Regions from separate parts of the Homo sapiens genome. Here region 2 is linked to region 1. Evidence: promoter capture Hi-C in 16 types of primary human blood cells and fetal thymus (Javierre and others, 2016). All regions are on one chromosome and are shown on one strand. Each heading gives the region's core, a stretch centred on a gene start or on the middle of the fragment in contact. The rest is flanking DNA. Distances are from core to core; before and after follow the strand shown. Region 1 holds the start of DEFA4 (defensin alpha 4). Region 2 overlaps XKR5 (XK related 5).

Evidence for each region. The method cuts DNA at HindIII sites, captures the fragments that hold promoters and counts their contacts. A CHiCAGO score of 5 or more calls a contact.
Region 2: a contact is called between a fragment that was not itself captured here and the fragment with the promoter of DEFA4 in region 1, in 1 of 17 cell types (monocytes). The highest score is 6.5, in monocytes.

The regions. Positions count from the first base shown.
Region 1 is chr8:6,937,056-6,944,263 of GRCh38, reverse strand. DEFA4 (defensin alpha 4) reads left to right here and starts at 5,958. Exons shown (of 3, transcript NM_001925.3): 1 at 5,958-6,038. RefSeq lists a silencer at 6,153-6,222. The HindIII fragment of the contact is 1,500 bases long and covers 5,103-6,602 here.
Region 2 is chr8:6,827,433-6,834,640 of GRCh38, reverse strand. It overlaps XKR5 (XK related 5), which reads left to right. Exons shown (of 7, transcript NM_207411.5): 2 at 1,741-1,924. Among named protein-coding and RNA genes, the nearest start is that of XKR5, 4.5 kb to the left of the region's middle. RefSeq lists an enhancer at 1-735. The HindIII fragment of the contact is 592 bases long and covers 3,626-4,217 here.

The DNA of each region.
Region 1 (7,208 bases), core at 4,709-7,208:
TCCACTAAAATATAAGACGGAAACAGTGCTTGCCACTCTGTGGCGCTGGAATCCAAGTAGAGCAGCCACCAGATTGTCCTCCAGGACCATTAAGGCCCTGATTCCAGATACAGTCAAGTTAACAGAGGGCATACAAAGGCCCAGGGCACAACATTTCACAGCAGGAGACTTGGCCAATGCATTCTGCCCATTCCCATCACAGACGGGTCGCAGTCTGTGTTTGCTTTGACTTTGGAAGGGACCCAGTGCACATTTACCAAATTGCACTCAGGCTGTCTCAGTAAGCCAGCTACTGCCCATAACTCGTGCCCCCGGGACTTCCTGTGATTCAGTGTGAACCCCTGTACCTTGTGGCATTACATTGATAGCATTTTCCTCAGAAGCCCCTAGAAGAAGGAAGTGAAAACCATGCTGGTCATTTTAGTGGCTTCCTCCAAGACCATGGCTGGGCCACAACCCACACAAAGTTCAGGCCCCGCACTGCTGTAAAGATTCTAGAGATAACCTGGTCCTCAGTGGGCCACCAAATTCACCTTGCAGTTAAAACCAAAGTCTTCACCATTAGGGTGCCAGCCACTTTGTGGCAGGCCCTGCGCATACTGGGACATTCCGCCTGCACCTACACCTCACTTGTCCATTCTGCAGAGGCCCACAGACACTGTCACCCAGAAGCCCTCCATGTCTTAACTGGGGCCACAGCAGGATACAGCATGCAGCTGGCTCAGCAGGTGGTCTCTCAGGCCATGCCCAGGTCCCGGGTTCTGAGTTTCATATAGAGGCCCTCAGTACCACCAATCATGACTCCCAGAGCCTCTGGAGAAAGCACGTCCATCCTGGCTATGGGCTTCTGCAGGCATAAACTTCCTGGCAGCTGCAGCTCATTATCCCCCGTTAAAAAGCTGGCTACCACTACACACAATGCCCGTATAGACATAGGCACTACAGGACAGGTTCCGGTGCTGCTGTGTCCCCAGACTCCAGCCATGCCCCATGTCTGACTCCTCCTGACAGAGGCTCAGCCATTCATGTCTCCCTGGGAAAATGGGAACAGCACTTGTAGGACAAGGCAAACCTGGCACTTAAGTCCTTTCAAGTGACAGGAAGCTGAGGCCATGGTTTCCCTGTTATTCAGCTCCTGCCTACAAGCAGAGAGAAATAGCAGCAGCGACCCTATTGCCCGAACAATTGGTGACCTGATGAGGCCATGGGAAGAGTTGGACATGGGGAGTCCACATACCTCAGGGAAGGCAGCACTGCCCTGCAGGCCGGGAGCCCACTGGCCGGCAACCACCTCCCACATTTATCACAGCAGGGCCTGCATAGGAGGGGAGGGTATGCTGAGCCCAGCCATACAGCTGGTGGTGCCGGTTGCAGGGGAGGTTGCTGTGGCCATAACCCCCACTCGGGGACAGTTTTTACAGATTCCTGGGCTGTGCCCAACATATTGTGAGTGCCCTGGATCCAATGCCTCTGGAATGGCCTCTGTGGCGTGGACCTGTTTGGGTCAAATTAGGGGACACTCCAGTCCTCCTATAGGTGATTCATGCCTCATGCATTCAGAACAAACATGCCCAGGCTACTTTCCACCACTCGAAGGGTGAGGCATCCACAGTGAGACGACTGCCATCTTTGGCCTCCAGACTGAGCCTGCTGACAGCCCCTGATGTCCTGTCCCCAGGAGGTTAGCGGTCAGATGCACCTCCCAGGGCTTGGGTGAGATCCTCTTATTTTTACAGACTCCAGAATCTCAAGTTCTGTATTCCTCAGGTGCTGACAGAGTGGAGTCCTACAGCCCCAGATCATGAGAGCTACAGCCACATTAGAGGGCAACCCACACCACAGCTGTCTCCCACCATAGCTTCAGGCAAGCAAAACTGTGGCCAGCAATCCCTTGTTCCTGGGCCATCACCCTTTCAGCTGGTGGCAAATGGACTTCACTGGGCCTCTCCCATCACAGCCACCACCTTCTGCTGTGCAGGAGCAGACACACATCCACCGCACTTCCATTGACTCTTCCAACCCAAGGCTCTTGGTAGAGAAAGGTGCTCTCTTTCTGTGACATTTGCTCTATTACCTCTTGTGAACCACCAGATATCACTGATGCAGATCAGGGCTCCCACTTCAGGGTGGTGCTGGGCAACTCAGCATGGGGGTTAGGGGACCCTCACTTAGCCACTGGCCTCCTCAAGCAACACAGTGGCCTCCTAAAGTCATGCTTATTAAAGTTGTGGCATGAGCACAGACTAAGTCAAATTAGGAAAGGCTCCAGTCCCCCTACAAGTGGTTCATCAAGGGAACCAAGCTCCTTTGAGAGCCTTAACTATCTTAATTCTCAACACCATGGCCACCAGCTCTTCTACAATTGGACCAGACCAACCATGGCACCCACCCTGGTGATCACAGAAGAGTTGAGCTCTTTTTCCCTTATGGATACCATCACCCACATTTTCTGCAATAATGAGACCCCCTCATACCATCACAAGATGTCCACTGTCTCAGCATCAAACATTTACTAAAGACTCGATCGAGGATGGACAGTGATAGGGTTTGGCTGTGTTCCCACCCAAATGTCATCTTGAATTCCTATGTGTTGGAGGGACCTGGTGGGAGGTAATTGAATCATGGAGGCAGGTCTTTCCCATGCTGTTCTCATGGTAGTGAATAAGTTTCACAAGATCTGATGGTTTTATATAGGGAGTTTCCCTGCAGAAGCTCTCTCTTTGCCTGCTGCCACCCACGTAAGACTTGACTTGCTCCTTTTGTCTTCTACCATGATTGTGAGGCCTCCCCAGCCATGTGGAACTGTGAGTCCATGAAATCTCTTTCCTGCATAAATCACCCAGTCTCGGGTAGGTCTTTATGAGCAGCATGAAAATGGACTAATACAGATAGTGAGCTGTGATCCTCTGGGGACTGATGGTCCAGGCAGCTGCCACAGAGCAGCCCTAAGATGCTTCTGCTACACCAGACCTCACCTCTTGACATACAGCCTCCAGCAGAAGCTCCAGTTCTTCCTGCTTTGAAAGGTAGCTAATATCTCCCACTCACTCCTCCCTGAAGGAAGTGGGGATTGTTTCTCTGCAGCCCAAAGAGGGTACAGTCTGGGTCACTAAATGAGGAGAAAAAGCCATCAAACTAGAGGACGCCAACTACATCAGACAAAGACCACATGGAACTACCATCACCATGTCCTGTGTCGATTGCAGAAAAATGCTCTGAAGAAATGTTGGTGAAAGCCCACCCCATAATCAATATCGACGTAAAAGTACCTTGAGGAAATCCCTGAGTTATAAGCTGTCAGTGCTCTCTATCTTTGGCCTTGCTGGGTATCTTATGTATGTAAATGTTGTACGGCTGCTCTTAGGCCTGGGGCCTGGCATCCCAGAGAGCTGCTGGAACAGGACAGCCACTGTGAGAAATTGAACCCCAGGCTGGAAAACTGTGGCATGTTGAGGCAATGTGCTAGAGGGGCAAAACCCCAAATGCCACCTGACCTGGATCCAAGCCAGGAAACCCGATCCTTAGATATTGAATGGGACCCATGGCACTAAAGCTTAAACACCAGCAACCCCCACAATCAGAGGCAGGTGGCCCTCCCCATGACCAGGCATGAATACAAACCAGCTAATGATGCCTCAGCACAAACTCAGTCTGTGGCCGGAAAGGTTGGAGCCTCACATGCAGAGAAAGCATTCAAACACGTTCATGGGCTTAGGGATACTTCTGTGCTCCAAAGTATGTGAGTTGTGGATGGAAATGTCCTATCCCCCGACCAAGGAAAGCACCACTCAAGCTTTCACTAAACGCTTCCATGGAGTCCCACAGAGGCCAGAGGCCTGTGCAACACCAGCCCATACCCTCTCTCTTCTTGAGTGACCAGCTGGAAAGGCCACCCCTACCCGAAAGGCCATCACCTCAGAAGACAGTGCTCTGATCCAAGGGTTTGTCCTGGGAAACAGTGGCCTCACCAGAACCAGAGACACCAAGGAATCTCATCTTGACTGTGGGGTCATCCCCAAACCAGACTCACCTTACTCTCCTTCCTGCCGCAAGGTATGGATCTCACCACCCCCGGGACATGGAGTTGGCTCACGTCCAGTACCTGGACCCGTGCTTTCTTAGCTCATGCTTTCCTGAGGACCCTGCAGATGACCCCTTAGAATGGTATTTTGCTGGGATCCCCATTTGTCTTCAGTGTAACCCATTAGTTAAACCGCCTACTGCAAGGAAACCACAAGGCTTGGATCAGATCAGGAGGCTGCCCTACAAGTTATGCCAAAAAATATGGACTTGGAAGACCTGTCTGTTATAATATCACACCCAAATCTAACCAGCTCTGCCAATAACAGCTCTCTCCTATGTTACTAGGAAAATGCCTATGGATTGGAGTGTGTTCTGTGTGCAGGAGGCTGGTCCAGGTTTCACTTCTGCAGGACACTGGACATCCCCACAACCACCAGACCTTCCCCACGTGCACACACACCCCTTCTCATTTTGCCTCTACATCCATATCCACTGGGCCCTTCAGGCACCTACTAATGCCCTAGAACCTAAAACCATCATCTGGGGCCCAGTTCCCCAAATAGCCCTAATTTCTTCCTCTGCTGGAATGAGTCCAGTGCCCACTTCCTCCAAAGGTGAAATTGCTGGGCCTGCAACAGATCAGGAACTCACTGCTTCCTCATAGGGGCAGCCGACTTCACTGCTCTGGAACAGCGACCACCCCTAGCGAGGCTTGAGATGCCTCTTCCCTCCTTAAGACTGAGAGCGCCGCTGCCCCCAGTCCTCCATAGCCCAGTGCCTGCTGCCTTCACGCAGAGCTGCAGGGGAGGCCCTGAGCACCCAGCCTGCTGGACCAGCGCTGTGCACGGCCCTCCCATGGCGGCAGGGGCTGCCTGGACTGCATACTGGGTTCAGCAACCTCACTATAGGTATTCATTCCCTCAGGAACAACTGCATTCTTTTCTCATTTCCAGAAACCTCATCCCGTTTACCTCACTACAAGGAGGAGGATGGTGGAGAGTGGTACATTTTAAAATGTGCACTAGTCTCCCTGGGACTCCCCTTCAAATAACCCAGGAGGGACCACACAAGGGAAAGCTTATGCATCCCCCCCACCCAGTGACCATCTTCCTAACTCTGGGTGTAGGGAGACTCGTAAGCCTACGGGATTGGTTTGGGAACAGGGTATTTGAGCTCACAACACAAGGTGATGCAAGCTAACACCAATCTCGCTGCAGCTTTGGCCACCATCCTAAGGGACTTCTGACAGACATTAGGTGTCACGCAATCATTTGATGAGTCCTTGGCCTGGATGACCTAGACAGTCATTTAGGCTTGAACTATCTAAGGCCAAGCAAAAAGGTGACTGTCCCCTCTAGGGAACCACATGCTATATGCACATCCTTTACTCGGGAGCCTGCAACCTGCCCTATCCAGCAACACAAGCCCAGGCGGTATTCAGTCTCATCCAGGTATTCTCCAACCTTACTTGTCTGAATGGCTTGGATTTGTTTTTATGGTTAGACCCCAGGGCCTGGGGAGGTCAGTTCAGACCACATTCCAAATCCTCATCTGTGTGTGGGTGGCATTTTGATCCTAGTCTCCTCGCAAGGTGTATACAACAATATGCAGGCCAGGCTCTCCTGGTGGCTTTAAATATTCCCTCGGTCCAGGTAGTTCAGCCTCAGCCACCAGCATAGGTATCATGGGGTCAATTGTCTTAGGAGTCATGAGGAATCCATAGTTGATTGCTGCCTGGGCCTGGCCAGGGCTGACCAAAGTAGACGAGGGGTCGGTACCTCCGTGGACTCCTGCTTGAACTCCAGCTTTCTGCCAAATTTCTCAACTGCCCTTGTTAACAGTTATTTAAAGTACCCAATAGAAAGTAACCCTGAAAAATTAGGACACCTGATACCAAAAGACCCTTAAATAAGGAAGTCCTCTCCTCTGTGTGCATGGCTGCTCTTGCTACATAAGACCTGGAACACAGGACTGCTGTCTGCCCTCTCTGCTCGCCCTGCCTAGCTTGAGGATCTGTAAGTAACACAAAACTTAAACTTTCACATTGAGGTTTCAATATTGAAGCTGTGTCCCCAGTCTGACCTCTCACTGTGGGGCCACCCCAGAGGGACCCAGCGGGTGAAGCCCCTGCTGTGAACTTCTATCTGGGTGTCTGGCGGCTGCTGGGGGTAATGGCTACTAGCTAAGTCAATAGAGAAACTCAAAAAGTTTCCTTCCAAACACACGTGTCCTACTTGACATGTCCAATAAAGACGATCACAGCTTCTTAAAACATTATTTTATTGTGAGAGAAGCCTCTGCAGGTCCTAGGTCTGTTTTTCAATCAGGTTGTTTGTTTTTTGCTATTGAGTTGTTTGACTTCCTTATGTATTCAGATATTTACCCCTTCTACCACGTAGGCTTTGCAAACATTTTCTCTCATTTTCTGGGTTGCCGTTTCCCTCAGTTGATTGTTTCCTTTGCTATGAAGATGCTTTAGCGTTCAATGCAGCCCCGCTTGTCTATTTTCCCATTTGTTTATTGCCTGTGCCTTTGGTGTCATAGCCAAGAAATCATTACTCACGTCAATGTCCAAAGCTTTATCTTTGTATGTGCTTCTCGTAGTTGTATGGTTTCAGGTCTTTTCAAGTCTATGTTGAGTCTTCAATCCATGTTGAGCTGATTTTTTACATGCTGTGAGAGAAAGGACCACGTGTATGCACCTAGCAACTCATGAACCTTACACAACTCTTTATCTCTCTCACTGAGCTCATTTCACCTGTACCCTGATAAGGTCATTGTCCTCTTCACTCTGGCCCCTACAGGAGACTACTCACCCCATTACCTCAGTCGCCCCTTCATGAGGGTATAATGACCTAGAAGCCTGCAATGAGTTACTCTCTACTCCACCGGAATACAGGTCTGGCACCAGTGTTTAGACCTGAAGAGAATAGTAGGGCCCATTATCAGGAAATAAGAGGCATTTGCTCTCTTAAATTATTGAATGAAAGCACTGTTTCCATTCTTTTTAGAATATTAAAGATTTAACCAGGAAATATTAGGTATTTCCTGAAAACAGGAAAAAATGCCAGGGTCCTCATCATCACCATCAACTTCAACCTAGCACAGACACTAAACATAGAGCTTCCTGTGAAGAAAGCTGGGAGAGCAGAGGAGCATTCCAGGGATGTCAAGGCCAATAGGAG
Region 2 (7,208 bases), core at 2,672-5,171, 110 kb after region 1:
TTCCCTGAGTTCGCGGGCGTCCCCGCAGGTCCCGCTGCTTCCGAGGCGCGCCGAGCAGGACGCACACGGAGGACGCGCAAGCGCCCTGGCTCCGCGCCCCGGACTGGAAGGGCTGAGACAGGACCTGCGGGGGTCGGCACCCACCCCAGGTGTCCTCCCTTGCCCTCCAGCTGGGCACGGACTGGGTGTCAGCATTCCCCAGCCCTGCAGCACCGAAGGCTTTTCGTGCAAGGGAGGCTGCCGCAGGACGCTCGGGGTGGTGACAGCCGGACCCAGCCTGGGCGCTAAGGGCTGCCTGAGCCCGGACCCCGCGGTCTAGAGCTGCAGCGTCTGCAGCTGTACCTCAGGGCAGTTTTCCCAGTTTCCCTAAAATCCGCGGCTTGTGTTCATTCATCCACTTAGAACTTTACTATTGGAAAACCTAAGTAACAGTTGTGTGAAACGATGCCTGTGTGCGGTGCCTCTACCAGCGCACCGCCTCCAAGATCAGCCTCAGACAACCCTGAGGAGGCCGTGCTAGGAGTATTGGGGAGGCCCAGAGTTCCAGGCCAGGGAGTTCCCCATGTGAAAGTAGGAGAAAAGGGACCCCACAGAGAGAGCTGTGACCCCACAGGGACTAACGGTTTCGTAGTGCGGAGTTACTGACTGCGGAGTGCACATTCTCTCTCCACTGCGTAACCACCATCAAAAACAAACAAGCAAACAAACCAGAGAGGAGGTTTCATCGTTCTCGAGGATGCACAAGATGCTAGGCGCTTCACACATGTCGTATATTGCCCAACAGCTCTGGAAAGCCCTGACAATGTCATTTAGTGAATGCCTGTCCCTGTTGCCAGAGGCTCTGCTGGCTCCCAGCCTGCTCCTAGGAGACTCTTGCTGGTGATGGGGACACTGTGTTGGTTGGTTACTGTTTTGTTTTGTTTTGAGACAAGAGTCTTGCTCTGTGGCCCAGGCTGGAATGCAGTGGCCCAATCTCGACTCACTGCAAACTCCGCCTCCTGAGTTGAAGCCATTCTGGTGCCTCATCCATCCCGAGTAGCTGGTATTACAGGCACGCAGCCAGCAAACTTGCTCATTTTTGTATTTTTAGTAGAGAGGCCCAGACTGGTCTTGAACTCCTGACGTCGAGCAATCTGCCCACCTCGGCCTCCCAAAGTGCTTTGGTTTTGTTTTTAATGAGATAATTAGGTGTGGCCACAAGATGAGACACAGGAGAGACTCTGGAAAGCAAAGTTTGCTGTACTCACAGGTCCTAGGACAGGAGACATGGCACACCATGCCGGGCCACAGGGGAATGTCACCAGGGTGGTCAGGAGGCAGGAGACAGGAACCAGGGGAAGTTGAGGCCAGACGCTTTGCTAGGGCAGAGCACCAGCTTCAGATTAGCCCTTTGAATAATTTCTGTGGCTTTGGGGTATAAGGGTGGTCCCTAGTTTCCTGGCACTGGGCCCTGGGATGATTAAGGCAAAAGAAGATTGCCTTCTGCGGGGGTATGGGCCAGGTAGGGGAGGTCTGGCTCTGGCTAGATTTAGTTCGCATGTCAAAGGCAAGCTCCTGGCTGGGCCCTTTGCTAGCTGAAATAATTGCTAGCCTTGGGAGGGACAGTCACTCCCCAGCCAGAAAGATTTTAAGAGGTCAGAACATCATAACATCCAGAAAATGTTCAGTTGTTTAAAATGCAGGTACCCAGTCTCACTCCAGCCTTCCAACAACCTGCTTGCCTTTCCCCTTCTCACCCAGGCCTTTACACCGTGGCTTACTACTTCACCACAGGACGGCTTCTGTGGGGGTGGCTGGCCCTTGCTGTCCTCCTGCCCGGGTTCTTGGTCCAGGCCCTGAGCTACCTGTGGTTCCGAGCAGACGGGCATCCAGGGCATTGCTCCTTGATGATGCTGCACCTCCTACAGCTTGGTGTTTGGAAGCGGTAAGAACAGCTGCCTCTTTCACCTCTGGAGCACAATTGCACAAGTGCAGTGAGAGGAATCTTCTCTCCATGTGGATTCTGTCCTCAAGCTCATAAAAGTTCAGCATTGGGAAGAGGTTCAAAGCGGCCACAGCAAACCCCTGCTCTGATATTGGCATGCCCGGGTCCAGCCTGCACTTTTTTGAGCATCTCCAACCTCAGGGGCTCTTTCTCTGTGAAGCTGTGACCTTACGAAAGGCTTTTTCTTGTCTTCAGATGAAGCCCTGTCTTGCTGTTTTGATTTGTTGGTTGAGCCGTTAGTTCCATATAAAGCAACTTACTTAAGGCAGTTCCATCTGCACACCTGTCACCTTAGAACAGGAAGGTGGCATAGTTTAGTGAACCACAGACTAGACAATGAAGCCAGCCTGTTGACATTTGCTTCAAGACTTCGTCTCAGGAAAAAGTCATTTGGATGCCAGGGCTAGTTTTTTCTCTAAAGAAGTAGCCAGGGATAGTTCTGGGGCCTGGTGGGCTTATCCGTGATCCATAGACCATCACGACAGGTGAGGGCTGATTTTTTTCTACTTTGAGAACCTGGATTCAAGGAGCTATGAGAAGAGATGTGTCAGTGAGTTTATATCAAGGGCACATTTCAGCTGGCAGCTGCTGCCTCATAATTCCATTGGGTTGTTAGGTTTGTTTTTTTTTTTTTTTTTTTTTGAGATGGAGTCTCACTCTGTCACCCAGGCTGGAGTGCAGTGGTGTGATCTTGGCTCACTGCAACCTCCGCCTCCTGGGTTCAAGCGATTCTCCTGCTTCAGCCTGTTGAGTAGGCGGGACTACAGGCACGTGCCACCATGCCCGGCTAATTTTTTGTATTTTTAGTCGAAACAGGGTTTCACTGGGTTAGCCAGCATCGTCTCGGTCTCCTGACCTCGTGATCCGCCCACCTTGGCCTCCCAAAGTGCTGGGATTACAGGCGTGAGCCACTGCACCTGGCCACAGGATTTTTTTTAAGGGAGAAAAATTCAGGGATCAGAGCGGTGAAGCCCTGCAGCTCAAGTGTTCATTAAATCATAGGCACTGAGGGTTGGAAAGGTGTTCAAGGGGTCGTGGCCAATGCTGCTGTGTGTCCTAGGGGTTTATGCCTGCAAGCTATTCCCAAGACTTTCTCCGGAGGCACTGAAATGAGTGATGAGCCCCACATAGAGCATCACTGTGAGCAGGGAATGGTGCCGTCCCGCCCAGAGTAGAATCTCAGCTAGGAGGTAGAGGGTGCTTCTGAGAAAGACTTCAAGCACCCACTCTCAGTTTCACTGGACCCTCAGAGTTGGACCCTAAACCTCTAACAGCACCGAAAGCATATTTGCAGCCACAGGCATTTTGCCAAAAGCTCGGCCTTGGTGTTCAAGCAGTGCCGTTCCCCTGAAAAGACAGGGCCCTTCCTTCCATGGCGGAGAAGGCAGAGAAGGATCTTTCGGAGGGCCTCATAGGGTCAGAGCCTCTCCTGTGCCCTAGCTGCCATTGTCGTCTCCTTCCCTGATCGGCCCAGCCCAGTAATCAATCCTTAAGGGCTCTGGGTCTTACTTGGCTTTGACCATCACAGTCGTAAGGCATGAGCCCTCGAGGACAGAGGCCTGTTGAGTGAGTCAGCTACCATGAGCCCATGTTTGGCAGCCCAAAGAGAGAGGTAAGCCCAGGTGGTCACTTAGAGAAGCTTCCTGGGTAATGAACGGTTAGACAAATCTGCCTTCTGAGGCTGTGTGGACCCTCAGGCCTCATGGAATCCACTGCCTTCCTCAGAGATGAGGGCTGCCAGGGGACCACGGTGTGTCCAAATTCATGCTGCTGGTATTTCACAGTGGACCCCACACTGTCTTTCCCATGCACTCTTAATTTTCTTAAGTGATGCCATGATTTTCTGGTGTATATAAAAAAACGAACTTGAATAATCTGGTATATACTAGTGAAATCATATAGATAAGTGAAGAGATACATGAAAATTATAAATTAGGAAAAACCATTAGTCATATATATTTATTCTTGTTTTGAAAAAGAAGTTAAGATGACTTTAAAAATACACATCCTTAAAAGAACAAAAAAGAAAAGAAAAGAAATGAGAAAGGCCAGGTATCGAGATGAAATGTTAGAAAACAAGATAGAGCCAGAATGCACAGCTATCGGAAGCGGGTCACAATTTGGCCCTAAGGTTTATAACAGCCAGTGCAAGCATAAAGGCCGCAAGATTTGCAGTGTTTCTCAGGTTAAACATGAACCAAAAAACAGAAATTTACTTCCATAGAGGAAAGCTTTGAAAGTTAAAATAGACAGCAGTGGATCCATTCCTCATCCTGAAACTAGCACATAGGGTTCAAAGACAACACTGAGTGAAGCAGTATTTTTAGTGAGGCAATCCAGCTTTCCAAATTGCAATTCTAGAAAAGGACCTGTAGGGGGAGCCAAAACAATTGCGTTTGGCACAATTTTGAATTGCCTAAGAATAGGTCACTTTGAGTGTCCTCATCACAAAATACAAAAGAATCTGCTAACTGAGAATCCAGTAAAACACAAAGTTGCTTATAAAAATGCAAGGATTGAGGCCTGGCGCGGTGGCTCACGCCTGTAATCCCAGCACTTTGAGAGGCCGAGGCAGGCGGATCACGAGGTCAGGAGATCCAGACCATCCTGGCTAACACGGTGAAACCCCGTCTCTACTAAAAATACAAAAAATTAGCCGGGCGTGGTGGCGGGCGCCTGTAGTCCCAGCTACTTGGGAGGCTGAGGCAGGAGAATGGCATGAACCCGTTAGGCGGAACTTGCAGTGAGCCGAGATTGCATCACTGGACTCCAGCTTGGGTGACAGAGCGAGACTCCGTCTCAAAAAAAAAAAAAAAAAAAAAAAAAAAAAGCAAGAATTTGGCCTGGCGTGACGGCTCACACCTGTAATCTCAGTGCTTTAGGAGGTGGAGGCAGGCTGATCTCTTGAGGCCAGGAGTTCTAAACCAGCCTGGCCAACACTGTCGAAACCCCATCTCCACTAAAAATAGACAAATTAGCCAGGCGTGGTCACGCACACCTGTAATGCCACCTACTCAGGAGACTGAAGCATGAGAATCGCTTGAACCTGGGAAGTAGAGGTTACAGTGAGCTGAGATCACGCCACTGCACTCCAACCTAGGCAACAGAATGAGACTCAATCTCAAATAAATAAATAAATATAAAAAGGCAAGGATTTAAGCCATAAGTGTATTCTTTTTAACGTTCCCAATAATACATACTATGTTCATTTTAAGTCTGACTCTGTTCAAGAGAACCTGACATTGGTGACCACTTATTTAAACAAAGACCATTACTTTCTTCTACTTAGGTTTTTTACTTACACTTTAATACTGTATGTTACCAACATCTTTTTCATCTTTCTTTTTAAGCCCACAAATCCACTTGTAAATGCAGCATGAGATGACAGAAGAAGGCCTATCTCATCCTTAGCATGCACCTTGGTTTAGCAATTTTTCTTTAGTGAAAGTTCAAGGTTGTCAAAAGGAAAGTTAAGGTAAACTCTAAAGGTATGTAAGACAGGTTCAGCATAAATGGGTGGAGATTTAATATTTAAAAGTATATAAAATATAGCCCTAGCCCTGGAGGGCCCAGTCCTGCCTCAGGATCCCTCGAGTGAGGCTTGAAGGCTGTTGCGATTTCCATCAATGTAGGGAGGGAACAGGCGTTTCCGACACAGCAAGCTGCAGCCGCTGGTGCAAAGACATAGATGCGTGCCAGAAGTGGTGTATATGGGAAATTAGGATGAGGTTCTTGAGACTAAAGGGTAAGAATTTCCTAGATGGCAGGAATGTGGCAGGAGATAAATGGGCTGGACCATGAAGAAACTTTTCTACTGGATTAAGGAGTTTGGATTTTATCCTCAGGCATTGGAGACCTGTTGGAAGGGTTTGAGCAAAGGAATAATATGGGCAAATGAGCCTGTAGACAGATGGCACCAGGGACAATAAAATGCAACAGAGTTGGGAGGGACGGGGTCCATGCAGGCAGCCAGAAATCCAGGCAAGTGCTGATAAGGACCTGGAATGATGCAGCGACTGTGAGGACAGATGTCGGACACCATCTCATAGGACCTAGTGACCAAATCCCCACGCTCTCCATCCCGCCTCAGCTTCCTCCCCGGCTTCCCTAGTGGCTGTCCAGGGGTCTCAGCCTGAATTTCTCCCTCTGCAATGGGTTCGAGACAGCTCGTTTCAGAAAACCGGGCTAGTCACCTTCCCACTGGTCCTCTGTTTCTTACAAGAGTAGCCCCACAACTCAGCCTCTCCTGGCCCCCGCCTTACCAAGCACCAGATATTCGCTATTCCCAGACATGGACCTTCATTTCAGTGCCTTGTACCCTGTGCCACTGACCCCAGACACTCCTTTAGGCTCTTCCTACCATCTACCTGTCCAGAGTTTGCCTGTCCTCCTCTTCCAGGAAGCATTCCCTGACCACCTTATTCTCTCTGCCTGTGACTCTGATTCCACCACTACCCAAGCCACTCATGTTGATACTTATATTTCTTCCTCTTGAAGCTTTTCGCATTTGTATGTTTTCTTTCCACACTGAATCTTAGGTTTCTAAAAGACATCTTTCATTTCACTTCCCCCCTTTTCTTTTTTTTCACGAGAGTCTTCTGCCTCTGTCACCCAGGCTGGAGTGCAGTGGCATAATTATGGCTCACTTGCAGCCTTGAACTTCTGGGCTCAAGTGATCCTCCCATCTCAGCCTCCTGAGTAGCTGGGACTACAGGCACCCACCACTATCCCAGCTCTTTGTTTTGTTTTGTTTTGTAGACATGGAGTCTCATTATGTTGCCAGGGCTGGTCTCAAACTCCCAAGCTCAAGCAATCCTCCTGCCTTGGCCTCCCAAAAAGCTGGGATTCATTTCTCTTACTTCGCCTGTGGTCTGTAGCAGGTGGGCCTCTCAAAGCCCAAGAAAAATGCATGTTGAACAAACAAAGCTTTCTGGAAGAGCAAGAAGAGGAAACTACCCCATGTCAGGAACAAATGATTTGAGAGTGAAAAGAAAACTACTGCCTGCCCTCATGGTTACATTTTTTAGTGTCATATGTTTTTCTTAACATTAAGTTTATGTCAGGAATCAAGACACAGTAAGAAATGGGTTCACTCCAGGATTCCAAATCATGAAAAAGGAAAGTTGTTTTTCTTAGACATCTGTCCTGGGATCTCAGCACCATGAATAAAGCCATTTCAAAGAGGAGTCCCCGAATCTTCTGCTCTGGACATAGAAATGTTTGC